3 separate regions of the Homo sapiens genome follow, and all the other regions are linked to region 1. The links are contacts of gene promoters, found by promoter capture Hi-C in human tissues and cell types (Jung and others, 2019). All regions are on one chromosome and are shown on one strand. The core of a region is centred on a gene start or on the middle of the fragment in contact, and the rest is flanking DNA. Distances in the headings are between cores, read along the strand shown. Region 1 overlaps LOC107985365 (a long non-coding RNA gene). Region 2 holds the start of COA6 (cytochrome c oxidase assembly factor 6). Region 3 holds the start of TARBP1 (tRNA guanosine 2 -O-methyltransferase TARBP1).

What was found. The method cuts DNA at HindIII sites, captures the fragments that hold promoters and counts their contacts. A contact is called where the count stands out against the background at its distance.
Region 2: the fragment with the promoter of COA6 here is called in contact with a fragment that was not itself captured in region 1 in 1 of the 25 tissues and cell types used here (H1 embryonic stem cells).
Region 3: a contact is called between the fragment with the promoter of TARBP1 here and a fragment that was not itself captured in region 1, in 1 of the 25 tissues and cell types used here (mesendoderm cells).

Annotation. Positions count from the first base shown.
Region 1 is chr1:234,846,385-234,851,269 of GRCh38, forward strand. The region is part of intron 2 of LOC107985365 (a long non-coding RNA gene); the gene reads right to left. Among named protein-coding and RNA genes, the nearest start is that of LINC02961, 89 kb to the left of the region's middle. RefSeq lists a silencer at 2,818-3,112. The HindIII fragment of the contact is 3,900 bases long and covers 39-3,938 here.
Region 2 is chr1:234,369,821-234,374,705 of GRCh38, forward strand. It overlaps COA6 (cytochrome c oxidase assembly factor 6), which reads left to right and starts at 3,636. Exons shown (of 3, transcript NM_001206641.3): 1 at 3,636-3,858; 2 at 4,410-4,569. The coding sequence starts at 3,647. COA6-AS1 (COA6 antisense RNA 1) reads right to left here and starts at 3,773. Exons shown (of 2, transcript NR_125961.1): 1 at 3,603-3,773; 2 at 2,987-3,390. RefSeq lists enhancers at 2,824-3,648, 3,470-4,019. The HindIII fragment of the contact is 13,687 bases long and covers 1-4,885 here.
Region 3 is chr1:234,476,438-234,481,322 of GRCh38, forward strand. It overlaps TARBP1 (tRNA guanosine 2 -O-methyltransferase TARBP1), which reads right to left and starts at 2,742. Exons shown (of 30, transcript NM_005646.4): 1 at 1,736-2,742. The coding sequence starts at 2,666. RefSeq lists silencers at 1,839-2,638, 2,669-2,858. The HindIII fragment of the contact is 15,490 bases long and covers 1-4,885 here.

The sequences.
Region 1 (4,885 bases), core at 739-3,238:
GTGAAGGTTCGTTATATAGGGAAATTTGTGTCACGGGGGTTTGTTGTACAGACTATTTCATCACCCAGGTATCAAGCCCAGTATCCACTAGTTATCTTTTCTGCTCCTCTCCCTCCTCCCACCCTCCACCTTCAGGTAGACCCCAGTGTCTGTTATTCCCTTCTTTGTGTTCATGAGTTCTCATCATTTAGCTCCCACTTACATGTGAGAATGTGTGGCATTTGGTTTTCTGTTCTTGCATTAGTTTGCTTAGGATAATAGCCTCCAGCTCCATTCATGGTCCCACAAAGGACAAGATCTCATTCCTTTTTTATGGCTGCATAGTACTATATGATGTATGTATACCACATTTTCCTTATTCAATCTGTCATTGACGGGCATTTAGGTTGATTCCACATCTTTGCTATTGTGAATAGTGCTGCAATGAACATTCACGTGCATGTGTCTTTACTGTAGAATGATTTATATTCCTCTAGATATATACCCAGTAATGGGACTCCTGGGTCAAATGGTAGTTCTGTTTTTAGCTCTTTGAGGAATTGCCATACTGCTTTCCACAGTGGTTGAACTAATTTACGCTCCTACCAACAGTGTATAAGTGTTCCCTTTTCTCTGCAACCTTGCCAGCATCTGTTTTTGTTTATTTTTGATAATAGCCATTCTGACCAGTATGAGATGGTATCTCATTGTGGTTTCAATTTGCATTTCTCTAATGACCAGTGATGTTGAGTTTTTTTCATATGCTTGTTGACTGCATGTGTGTCTTCTTTTGAAAAATGTCTGTTAATGTTCTTTGCCCACTTTTTAATAGGGTTGTTTTTGTCTTATAAATTTAAGTTCCTTATAGATGCTGGATATTAAACCTTTGTCAGATGCATAGTTTGCAAATATTTTCTCCCATTCTATAGGTTGTCTATTTACTCTCTTGATAGTTTCTTTTGGATGGCAGACTTTTCGGTGACAACAATAGAAGTCAGAAGTCACTGGGATATTTTCAAAGCACTGAGAAATAAGCAATGATCTTAGTCTGCAAACTAAAAATAGTAAAGAAACAAACTAAGGCTAAGTTGCAGATCATGCCTAGTGTTACTCATATGAAGTTATACATGTATGAAGAGCTGGATCCATGGAGGTGTGACTTGGGCAGTTACACAGGGTGCCGCTCTTGGTCTGATGCTCTGTTGTCACAAGCTTGAAATTCTTAATAATGTTTTAACAAGGAGCTCTGAAGTTCTGTTTCTCACTGGGCCTTACAAATTATGTAGCCAGCCTTGTATGTAGGCCCTGAAGACCTGGTATCACTCAGAAACAAGGAAATCGCATTCTATACAATGTGTGGTCAGGCTTAGTAAAATGAAGCAAATGTTAAGCAGAGAAACCTAGGTCTTGTAGCTTGAAAGACAGAAAGAGGGGTTTATGCAAACATATTTGATAAACTTTGTCCACTGAAAGTGTTCAAGTCCTTTGTACATGAGAAGGGAAGGATGAGCCAAGCACCGGCAAGAATGGTCCCAAGAAGGAATGAGAAAGTCACCAAAATGCCAACATCTGTTAAGCCAGGTGATTTGCACCATGTACCAAGGATCTGAACATAAGAGAGGAGTAGATAGTGCTCCCTTTAGCAGCATAGGTACTAAAAAAAGGAGTGGAGAGAGAAACAGACAGTGGCAAGAAAAATGCCTTTCTCAAAGACATCTAGATAAACACTCACCATCAGAAGTATCAGTGATATCTGAATATTGGTACAAATCAGACAGCTAGAAACAATAATACCAGTTTAAAAAATCTAGGTCCTTCAAATTAGACAAGGCCCTTATAATAGGTATAATGAGGAAAAGATACTGTAAAACCTTTCATGATCAATCTAATTGTTCAATTCTTTCATTATCAGGAGATTCGGGTAATATTAGAAGGTACCTTAAAAGGGAGGAAAAAGGAGCAATATTAGTATGAAACTATCTGATTCATTATTTTTTCAAAGACTCAAGTTTATGGCCCTCGATGATAATGGATTCTATCCATTAAAACAGTTTTTCACTATTACCCTGACTTCTGAGGAAATGTGGAGTTAATTGGTCTATTTGCATTGTATTTGCAGCCATCTTGGTCCATTAGACAGAAAAGTATCACAACATCTATTAGATAGTACCATTTTTAGGACTAAAAATTCAGAGTTTCAAAACAGGCTTGTAATATCAAAACTAAAATGGAAATTTTTCATCTGTAGTTTTTCCAAGGTTGTGTGGGGTTAGATGTGATAACATGGTGCACCAAGGTGAAGTGGCAGATGAGAGAGACAGAGAATACAATGACTGCAAGTCTGTATTTGGTTCTGGGAGCCAAGTCTGCAGTAGATCTAGAGAGAGTTTTTATAGGAACTATCTGCGACTATCCTAGTTTAGGTTGAAAGAGGAGATTTCCCAGGAAGTAAAATTAATAAGCATTTGGAAAGAGACTATTTGGATATAAGTCACGATTTTCATACTGGAATGGGAGGGTATGGAGTCTCCTCTTCTGGATGTCTTTGAAAAAAAATCAATTCTTTAATAGTTGAGGACACTATTTCCCAAGCTGGGATTTCTGTTCTGTGTGGCATGGTAACAGGAGTGGTACTTGGGGGACTGGAGGGATGAGTTCAGAAAGGGCTCCCCACATGGGTTGGCATGAGCATTGCCGGAGTGTCCACCAAGCCTGCATGTCTCCTTCCTTCTACTCACACTTCTCCTCATTTCCCTAGAAAACTCCCTGAAAACGCCTATCTTGGCCAGTTTCTCTCCTTGCTGGGACTAGCTGTGATGTGGAGGTGACAAGATGTTTGTGCATAAAAGGCTTAAATAAGGGACATTAAGTATCAGGGCTTGCCTAAAGATGCAAAAAATGGTCGTGTCATCATGGCCTCCTCTTAAATTCTTAGACTCTTCCTCCTTCGAAGATTCCTTCAGATTTGCTTTGGTGGCCAAACGTCTGCTCCTTCCTCTTTTTTTGTACAGTGTCTTGAGTAAACAATGACACTTCTAGCCAGCATTTGCTTCTCTGCGTGCTTTGAGGATGTAGATTTTGTGGAAATAAAAAAAAAGAGAGAGAACTTTCTGCTGCTTTCCCATGCAAGGAAGGCTGAGGTTTAGCAGTGGTTTGTGTGTTGGGTTTTAGCCAGATGCCCTGGATGAACCACATGGATGAATTCTTTTTCAGCAGGATGAGTGCATCACCTTGGCTACCCAATGAATCAGACCTAATTAAAAGACAAAGTAAGCACACTGCAAAAATGCTAAGGATAAGAGGAAGAGGGTAAGATGAGGTAAGTAATGGGTCATTAAGATAATGAACACAAAGGGGACAAAGGATAGCAATTTTAAAGTCCTGGCATTGCATTCTAGAAGAGACCTGGTTCACTCTTCTCCCATACGTGGTCTAGTTGGTGAGGACAGCAACCCAGGGATGAATGAGCAGCTTAGGACAAGCAGTCAAACTTTCAAAGTCAAGATCTTTAAACGCTCTTAGGAGCTGGTGCCCACTGAACAGAGAGGGACACTTTTTCAGGCGTGGCACAGATATGCAGGAAGTGTTTGAACATTTCCAGGAAGTTTCTGGTGGAAAAAATCAGAAAGCAATTTCGCCCTCACGTTTATTGCTAATTTATGTGCTCTGTATTGACTGGATGTGCCTGTTGCATAGCAACCCATGGACATGTTTGCAGGAGTCATAATTTTTAAGAAGGAAAGTCCCTGCTGTTTGACTTCGAATCCATCCTCTGCAAATGCGGTGTTTCAGGGGACCATTTTGTATGCCTGCTTGTTTTCCCTTCCATCAAAGCTTCTTTTTTGGAGTCTCGCTCTGTCACCGAGGCTGGAGTGCAGTGGCGCAATCTTGGCTCACTGCAACCTCCGCCTCCTGGGTTCAAGTAATTCTCCTGCCTCTGCCTCCCAAATAGCTGAGACTACAGGCGTGTGCTACCAAGCCCAGTTAATTTTTGTATTTTTAGTAGAGATGGGGTTTCGCCATGTTGGCCAGGCTGCTCGCAAACTCCTGGCCTCAAGTGATCGGCCCACCTCTGCCCATAAAAGCTTCTGGTAATGGCTCATGAGTGTGCCATTCGGAAGGACTCTTCAGTCAAGCCTTCAACAACCTAACCCTAGAGTTAAAACTGGTAAACTTTGTATAGAACTGTAAAACTAATGACACTTGCGTGAATCTTTACACTGCAGTAATAGAGGATATGCATGTTACATACATAGGCACAGACACACCCGGCCTGCCAAGAACAAACATGTCATTATTATTTTTTAGCCTGAAATTTTAAAAGTTCTTTAAAACACACGGTTTGAGGAGCTTAACACAAAGACTCAAGGCCGTAAGAATTACATTTTCATCCAGGTGCTGTGGTTCATGCCTATAATCCCAGCACTTTGGGAGGCTGCGGCAGGAGGATTGCTTGAGGCCAGAAGTTGTAGACAAGCCTGGTCAACATAGTGAGACCTTGTCTCTACAAAATACTAAATAATAAATTAAAATAAATTTTTTTTAAAAAGCTCAGGAATGGTGGTTCACACCTGTAATCCCAGCACTTTGAGAGGCTGAGGTGAGTGGCTCACCTGAGGTCAGGAGCTCGAGACCAGCCTGGGCAACATGGCAAAACCCTGTCTCTGCAAAAAAATACAAAAATTAGCTGAGAGTTGTAGCATGCACCTGTAATCCCAGCTACTCGGAAGGCTGAGGCACAAGAATCGCTTGAACCTGAGAGGTGGAGGTTGCAGTAAGCTGAGATCGTGCCACTGCACTCCAGTGTTGGTAATAGAGCCAGACGCCATCTCAAAATAAATAAATAAGTAAATAATTTAAAAAATTTTTTAATTAAAATAAAAGCCAAGTGTGGTTGGGTGCACCT
Region 2 (4,885 bases), core at 2,386-4,885, 470 kb before region 1:
TTTGTTTCTCTTTGTTGCTGTATTATATTTCACAGTATGACTATACCATAATTTATCCATTCTATTGTTGATACAAGTTTGAGTTGCATAATGGTTTCAGCTATTAAAAAAATGCATATGTACAGGAAATTCTGTAGAGTTGCTGAGTCACAGTGAATGTGTATCTTCAATCTTACTAGATAATTCAATCTTACTAGATAATGCCACACTGTTTTCCCTGATTGTATCAACTTATGCTACCACAGTGTATGAGGATATTCCTTGCTTCTTCCTTAAAACTTGTTTCTGTCAGACTTTTAAATTATTTTTTGATCTGCTGGGTGTCTAATAGTACTGCATTGTTATTTTCATGTTCCTTTCTATAGTTACTAATGGGAATGTTGGTCCTTTCATGTATTAGTCATTTGCATTTGGTGCTGTGCCTATTTAAGCTTTTTGCCCATTTTCAAAATGGGCAAGTCTATTTCTTATTGATTTGTGTTATTTGTATATTCTGGATACTAATCCTTTTTCACTTGCTTCATGGTATTGTTTGGTAAACAAAAGTCCATTACTTTTATGTAGCCCAATATTTTTATGTATGTAACACATCTTTTTTTTTTTTTTTTTTTTTTTTTTTTTGACGAAGTCTCTCCCTGTTACCCAGGCTGGAGTGCAATGGCATGATCTCAGCTCACTGCAACCTCCGCCTCCTGAGTTCAAGCAATTCTCCTGCATCAGCCTCCTGAGTAGCTGGGATTACAGGCACACACCACCATATCCGGCTAATTTTTTGTATCTTTATTAGAGACGGGGTTTCACCATGTTGGCCAGGCTGGTCTCGAACTCCTTACCTCATGATCCGTCTGCCTCAGCCTCCCAAAGTGCTGGGACTACAGGCGTGAGCCACCGCACCCGGCCACATCATTTGATAATTACTGAGACTTTCCTTTATGGCTAAAAATTCCTCTTAACCTAAGTCATAAAGATTTTTTCTTATATAGGTCCACATAACTCACCTGAAATCCCTGGAGCCAGATGTTTGAAATATAGACTATTTTAAATATTAGAAGGGTAGTATGAAACATACAACATATATTGTATAATATTCTCAACAAGAACTGGGACAGTACCCATAATGAAATACATTAATATTTCTACCGAAAAGCATATGCAGTCACCTAAGTGATAATAACAACTATAAAGAGCCTCATGTTACTTTAAGTCGTATTTTTCACCAAATGAGTTCCAAAGTGTGTGGTGTTTCAGAGGTTTGGGGATTTTATAATTAGTACAAAAGTTATGGTAGCCTTATTCAGTAAGAATGGAATGATTTCAAAGTTTGTAGGAACTTACTGGTGGAGCCACGTACCTGGGATTTGTGTGTATGAAGATTCTTCACTACTCATTCAAATTATGTAATAGTTTCTCTACTTTTGAGTTGTTTTTCTTGAAGTTTGTACAGTCATCTAAATCTTATTTGCACTAAATTGTTTACAAGATTATCTAACTTTTTTGATGTCTATAGTATTTCTAGTTTCCATTCTTGATAAAGATTGTTGACATCCCTCCTTTTATAGCTATTAGATGTTTGCCAATTTTAATTTTTCTTTTCCAAAAAAAATCAACTTTTGGCTTCTTTCAACCTATTCTATGCTGTGGTGTGCTAGTGAGTTAGCTCCAAACATAAAATCCTGGCTTGTTGATTTCCATAGTGTAAACAGTCCCATCATGGTTGACTTCAAGCTACTTATTTGAATTGGCTCCAAACATAAAACAAAATCCTGGCTTGTTTGTTGAGTTCCATAGTGTAAACAGTCCCATCGTGGGTGACTTCAAGCTACTTATTTGATGTTATTGATCATGGAGTTGCCAAGAGGTGTGCACAATTGGCTCTCCTATGCCAGTACAGGCTGGCTCTGGTACACCACTGCTTTTATTTTCCATTTCGTTAATTTCTGCTCTTAACATTATTTCTGTCCTTCTATTTTCTGTCTTATTTTGCTGTCCTTTTTCTAACTTCTTGAAAAGGGATTTTCAGCTCAAGACTTTTCAGACTCTTCTAATACACTTACTTATGGCTATAAATGTCCCTGTAAGTGCTGCTTCAGTTTCATCCCACAGGTGTTGCTATTGTTATTTTATGGTTCAGTTCAAAATATTTTCTCAATACCATTGACTCTGTCTCTGTGTTATTCAGGCTTGTTTTTACAGTTCTTTATTGATTTCTATCTTAAATGCACTGTAGTAAAAAATGACAATTATTTCAATTTTCAAAATTTCTTGAGTTGCTTTATAACTAAGTATGTGGTTGACTGTGGTGATGTGTCTGCTTTCAAAAAACTGTACATTCTGATTTTGGTCGTGTTGTTCTGTACATATTAATTGCGTCATTTTTACATCATGTTATTCACGTTTCCTATATCCTTAACTTTTCTCTTGCTAGTCTTAACGATTAGTGAGAAAGTCCTGTTAAAATTACCCAATATGACCAGGCATTTTTTTTCTTTGTAATTCTGTCACTTCACTTTGTTTCATATGTATTTTTCATTAGGTACTTATAAATTTTAAATTTAAAACACATTTCCTTTTTAGACTCAGAAGTCATCTAAGACTCTTTCCTTTCATTCCTTTTATATCCCATCAGTCATATTTAAAAGATATCTATATGTAAACTGACGTCAATAGACATGATGTAAAAGAAGGGGGTGGCTCTGGTAAAGCTAAAGTAACTCCACTATGAGAGTGCATTAACTATGGGGGAAATACTTTCTATATTGCAGAACACATATTTGGTGGTACGTAGCCTCACATCGCCACCCGGAAAAGTCTGCATATATTGAATTTGGAATGGATCAAACTGCACTGAGTGCAAAATTGTAAATTGCATCTTATATAAATGTTTTAGAACTAGATGATGGAGCAGATGGGATCTATTAAGAGAACGGGGTGCCAGATGACTGACCATAAACATGCTTTTTAATAAAGACTCTGCTGAGAGATTAACTCATATATTTTCTAAAATTTTTATTTCTTGTTCATTTTGTTTCTAAGATATTCACTCACATATTAAAAATAACAACGTCTCAAAACATTTGAAGCAACTCTCTTCATCCCTTTTAAAAATACCTTGCTGTTTCGGGGGTTAAAAAAAGCCACAAGGGAGATTAAAACAATACAAATATTTATTTTCCCAACTCCCCTGCCATGGGTTCTGGGACGTCACCGCCTCTTTCTGGGGCCCGTTTCATCCTTTTCTTTTAATCCAAGAAGCGATGGTGTTGTGCGCCTGTAGTCCCAGCTACCTGGGAGGCAGGCTGAGGTGGGAGGATCTTTTGGGTCCAGGATTTTGAGGCTGCAGTAAGCCGTGTTCTCACCACTGCACTCGAGACTGGGCGGAAGAGCGAGACACTGTATCAAAAACAAAACAAAACAAAACGAGAAGGCATCGCGGCTCTGTAACACTCCGTCCAGCTCTCGCACTCTCAGATGCAAACTTCCACACAAACTCCTCGGCTCGCCTTGTCCCGCGGGACTAGCATATCAAGCCTTCCGGGACACACCGTGCGATGATATATACGTATATACCCCTCTTGCCCTTGAAGGCCGGAAGTCGGTCTTACAGATAAAAGCGAAACAGGAAGTCCCGCCCCTCTATGGAAAGTAAATGGTAGCTCGGAAGGGTCAAAAGAGTCCGCGGTTTCGCCGCGTGAGTTGCTTTTTGCGGCTGGGGAGGTCTACGCTTCTAGAGCTTGAGCCAGCGGGGCGACCCTGCAGTGGCAGGACTCGGCACCGCGCCCTCCACCGCCGGTTGGTGGCCTGCGTGACAGTTTCCTCCCGTCGACATCGAAAGGAAGCCGGACGTGGGCGGGCAGAGAGGTCGGCTTGCTGATGGGTCCGGGTGGGGCGCGCGTGGACTATGGGCCCGGGAGGTCCCTTACTGTCCCCGAGCCGCGGGTTCCTCTTGTGCAAAACGGGGTGGCACTCCAATCGCCTGCTTGGTGATTGTGGCCCCCACACACCTGTTTCTACAGCGCTTAGGTTCGAACAGTAACCCTGTAAACTAGGCACTGCTGTCCCCGCTTTACTGGTGGGAAACGGGCTCGGAGAGAATAAATGAGCTGCCCTAAGCGACTGGGACAGAACCACAGTTCTCAGCCGGGCTTTCTGAGCCCACGCTGCCGCCCCAGCAGGGATCAAATCACACAGTGTGAGATAAGCCTCAAGAGCGGGTGGCCTTATGCTGCCACTGAGAACTGATTGGGTTCAGTTGCCTCATCAAAATCCCTAAGCATGGTTTTGTTTTGTTTTTGTTTTTTTTTTTTTTTTTAGTTTTAAAGGAAGAGGAGATTGACGGTTTTCCTCTTTCCTTATCTTCTCTTCAGATTACAAAGTTCATTGTTAATCTCAAATATTATTTTGGCCAACAGCTTCATCGCAGTAGGAATGGCAGCCCCATCTATGAAGGAAAGACAGGTCTGCTGGGGGGCCCGGGATGAGTACTGGAAGTGTTTAGATGAGAACTTAGAGGATGCTTCTCAATGCAAGAAGTTAAGAAGCTCTTTCGAATCAAGTTGTCCCCAACAGTGGGTAAGTCACACTTTGATGTGTTTCTCTTCCCTGTTAAGATACATCGAGCTTATACTGTGAGTGGTAGGCTGACATGAAGCGCTCTCTGAGGCATGTCAATTAACAGTTTCTTTGAGGCGCAGAGAAAACCTTGCCTGGTAATTCAGCCTTATTTGACGCACTTACATCAGCTAGATCTTTGGAGAATGTCAACTGACACATTAAAGAGCATCGAAAAACACAACAAACATATGAACAGTAACCAAAAAATTCCAGTTCATTTCACTGGTAGACTTTTCCAGGATCTTCTGAAGGGGTAGTATTTAATCTTGGGCAG
Region 3 (4,885 bases), core at 1,492-3,991, 370 kb before region 1:
GGCACAGGGAGAAACCTGCGACATCTGGGCATGTAAGGGGACTCTGGGAGAAACTTCTTCAGGAAAACCTCTGATGATCTGATTTTGTAGAGGAAAGATTTAGTCAACTGGTTAAGAATTTAAGGAGGAATTCGTGGTAAGTATAGAAAGAACCGAACACATTTTAAAACGTCAAAATCATATGAAAAACTTGCAGGAAGAGAAAAATGATCAGTTTCCTACATAGATCACCTGCAAGCAGCATTTACAGTCATAATTTTATAAATGCTGAACACACATTTAACCAAAATTTTAACTGTGACAATATATTTTATGATATAACTAAGATATACTATGTCAAGACATAGGGGTAAATCCCCTAATATTCCGTTAAGAGGCCACAGGATTTGCTTTCTGTAACAGAGGAAATGGGAGTTGCAGGAAGCATGGAAGCACCATTGCTTATCCCTAAAACTGCAAAATAACTGGCCGAGCGCGGTGGCTCACGCCTGTAATCCCAGCGCTTTGGGAGGCCAAGGCGGGCAGATCACCTGAGGTGAGGAGTTTGAGGCCAGCCTGACCAACACGGTGAAACCCCGTCTCTATTAAAAATACAAAATTAGTGGGGCATGGTGGCGCATGCCTGTAATCCCAGCTACTCTGGAGGCTGAGGCAGGAGAACCGCTTGAACCCGGGAAGTGCAGGTTGCGGTGAGCGGAGATTGTGCCATTGCATTCCAGCCTGGGCAACAAGACCGAAACTCCATAAAACAAACAAACAAACAAACAAAACTGCAAAATAACAGACTCATGTAAATAAATGAATGTTTTAATTTTTGATGATTTAAAAAATGTTTTCCAGTGAAAACTCTCAGGGATGATCACACCTATCTGTGGACTGTTCAAATATTTACTCTCTAATGTTTTAAAATTACTTGAAAATATAACCTCATAACTTCAGCCAAACAAAAATCCTTTACCTGTAATAAATGGTCAGCTACCGTTGAAAAAGTAGAAATATTCTATTGAGACAATTTTGAGTCAATCTACTTTGTACTTGACAGTTTAAACCCAAATTTAACATGAGTGAAGTCAAACCAATCAACAGTAACGTAACAACTTGAAGGGAGGCCTTGCTGTTTCATTACTCTTGCACATAGTAGGGAGCAAAGCTCAAACAGTTAAAAAATAAAATCTGATTCATTCTATTAAATCAATGGCAAAAATACACTCAAAAGGTCGACTTAAGAAACATGTTTAACAAATATTAGTAAATCCTGTTCCTAATTACCAGGGGAAATTTCAGAAGAGTGTGATGGCCTCTATGACGCTTAATTCTAACACTCAACACTCAATTCACTAATTCACTGGTCAGTACAGATAAATAACAAATAATTTTTCTTTCAACTTGATAGATATCAACCGTTTCTATTGGGTTGAATCTACCATGATATAGTGCAGATTTGGGTCTGTAAAATCTTGCACGGGCTCCATTATCTTCCTAAACTATTCCAGGGGTGCTGTATTCCACCGGCTCTGGGTTAGAACGTTCCCAACCGCAGTGATTTGTGACTTCAAAGAACACCCTCGAGAAGGGGTTCCAAAGGTTTTCAGGCTTTAGGGGAGCAACGCGGAATAACCAAATTCTGCATGGATCGGAGTGACGACCCCGATAAGCTAGTTTTTAGAAGCAGGAAGACTCCCCTCTGGGGCAGCCAAGTAGGTAGCACTAGGCTGGGGGGCAAAGAGGCAGGTACCGTTTCCTTCCTGGGGCCCGCAGGTGCAGTCGGCCCCCAGCTCCGCCGACACCTCCACCGCCCTCTGCAGCAGGTAGCGCGCTCGCTTGCGCGTCAGGGCGTCCGCCTGGCCCAGCCCCGCCTGCACCGTCCTCCAGAAGCGCCAGCAGCGCCGGGCGTCCGGGCCCGCCTCGCGCGCGCCGCGGGCGCGGTCGCCGCCGGGCTCGGGCAACAGCTTCTCGGCCAGGGCGCTCAGGACCAGCAGCTTCTCCTCTACGCGGCCGGACCCCAGGGACGCCCCAGGCGCGGCCAGCCCGCCCCACACGGCCCGCAGCGCCGCCCCGCCACATTGGACCAGCACTGGCAGCAGTCGCCCGGCCACCAGCGCCGCCGCGTCCTCGGCAGGCCCGGCCTCATCCCCGTCCCCGCCCCCGCCCAGCGCCAGGGCGACGGCGGTCCCCGCCACGCGCTCCAGTAGCGGCCCGTCCTCGCGGGGCCGCAAACATGGCCCGACGGCTGCTAGCACTTCCACGGCAGCCTCGGCGCCAGGCGCGCGCCACCCGGCGAGCAGATCGCGCAGCGCCTCCTCAGCCAGCGCGGCCGCCAGCTGCGGACGCCCGGCCAGGCGGACGCACGAGCGCAGGGCCGCGCCCGCCGCCCTCAGCACGCGCCGGCGGTGGCGAGGCTGCAGACTGGGGTCCGGGCCGCCCGCGGGGCGTCCGCGCAGGCTCCGCAGCAGTGGCACGAGGTACCCTGCAGCCACCTCGCGCGCCGCCTCCGGGAGCGCGCCTGCGCCCCCGCTGCCGCGCGCCTCCTCGTCCTCGAGCCGCTGCAGAAGGAAGCGCAGCGTCTCCACGCGCTCCGCGGATGCCTCCCCTTGGCACAGCGCCCCAAGCAGGGCCCGGGGGTCCCGGCTCTGCGAGAGCAGCGCTTCCGCGAGCACCCACTCCATTTGCCGAGCGCCCGCGCCACCGGCCCGGGCTCCCAAAGGAAGGCGCCGGCGTGTGCGATGCGTGCGCACAGGACCGGCCGGCCCCTACGTGCGCGTGCGCCGACGGAGCCGGGCGCGCGGCCGCAGAGAGGGGGATCCCAGCCCGGCTTGGTGCAGCTCAGCTTCCCTTGGGTTCCTGCCACCAACCCTGCCTAGATAGAACCCACCTGGTCTCTTATTTTTAGGAGAAACGAGGCCTTCGTTAAAAGTTAATGTAGTATCTACACCAGCTTCATCGATTCCTGATTGGAGGTTGGTCTGCCCAGGACCCTAAATCAGGCGTGCCTGTGAGCATAAACCAGTTCACAGAAGGTGCACAGCAGAATCACTTTAGATTATTTTCCAAACGTTGCATGATGGGCACCATCCACAAAGAGACTGACACAGTAGGTCTGAAATTGGTTCTGGACATCTGCATTAAAAATAAGTCATGAAAACACAAGAATGATTTAGACGTAAGGCCAGGAGTGAGAAGTGTTACCGGTGGAGGGTGTCCAGGTCCAAGAATTGGACAAAGCGCACAAACAAAGCAAAGACAGAATGAAGCCACAAAAGCAGAGATTTATTGCAAAAGTACACTCCACAGGGTGGGGGCAGACCCAAGCAAGCCGCTCAAGGGGGGCTGGTTACAGAATTTTCTGGGGTTTAAATACCTATAGAGGTTTCAATTGGTTACTTGGTGTACACACTATGTAACTGAAGAGGATAAAATGAAGTTACAAAGTTATTTACTTGGTGTACTCCCTATGTAAATGAAGAGGATATTTCCTGTCATAGCTGAAGTGTTTCTATCTGATTTGGTTCTAGGGAGTTTTTGGATTCCCTGCCTCCAGGCCCTATTCTCCTGCCTTAGAGGTACCTATAGCAATGTGCTAGGATTCAGCTAAAACCAAGATGCCCACGCCAGCCCTCACAGCCAAGTGCCCAAGATGACTCCAGGATGCAGAGCCTCCTGCACAATGCATGTGCTCCCATGTGCAAACTCAAAAATAGTCCCTGTGTCTGTCTTTTCTGTATTTCTGACAGCATCCATTGCTAAATAGAGAAACAGAAAACCTCACCTCGGCATGCATGGTGTGGATTTGGTTCCTGGCTCAATTTGAGACAAACTAGATCAGTGACATAGGGTTTTCTTCGCTACTAAACACAAAGATCTGCCTCTTAGTCAATAGAGAAAACAGGGTCCCAACTTCAAAGAGCTTGACATATAATAACATAATGGATAAGACAAAAATTAGTTATTTAAATTTACAGTTATTTTTATATAAAGTTATCTGACTTTAAGGTTATCTGACATTACACAGGCAAGACTTTTTTCATATTTCAGTCATTCCGTTTTTCATTGACAAAATGCATAAATGTTTCTATTTTAAGCCCTTTTAACATGTCAGTAAATATCAATTACCTTCAACATAAAATGTGCAGAAAACTATTGTTTCTGTCAACATATATCTAACAAATATAAATGGGTAAATGTCTTGAGCACTTAACAAACGAAGATACACAAATGATAAGCACTTGGAAAAGTGTTCAACATCATTAGTCATCAGAGAAATGCAAATTAAACCCACAATGAGGTACCACTTCATACTGATGAGAATGGCTAACATGTAAAAGCTCGAAAACACTAAACGGCAAAGACCAAGGGTGTGGAGCAACTGGAATTCTCATACATTACTGGTGGGCATGAAAACGGTACAGTCACTTTAGAAACTGTTTCTCGTAAAGTTATAATATAGCTGCTTTATGATTCAGCGATTTCACCCCCAGGTAATTACCTAAAATAAATGAAAACATGTTTCAAAAAAAAAAGCTTGCAGAAGAATGTTTTTGACAACATTATTCGTTATAGCCAAAAGCTTATAACAACCTAGTAGGTGTTAGGTAACAACCTACATGTGCATCAAATTGAAGAATGAATAAAAAATTGTGATCTATCTATATAATAATGCTCCCAGCAATAAGACAATGAATTGCTAATCCGCTTTACATGGATAAGTCTCAGAAACAATATGTTAAACAAAGGAAGCCAGTCACAACGTTTACATCCTCGTGATTTCATTTATATGAAATCCAAGAAGAGACAAAAGTAATCTGAAGGATAGAAATGAGAACAGTAGTTGCATATAGGGAGTAGAGATTTGACTAGAATTGGGCACAAGGGAACTTTCTGGGGTGAT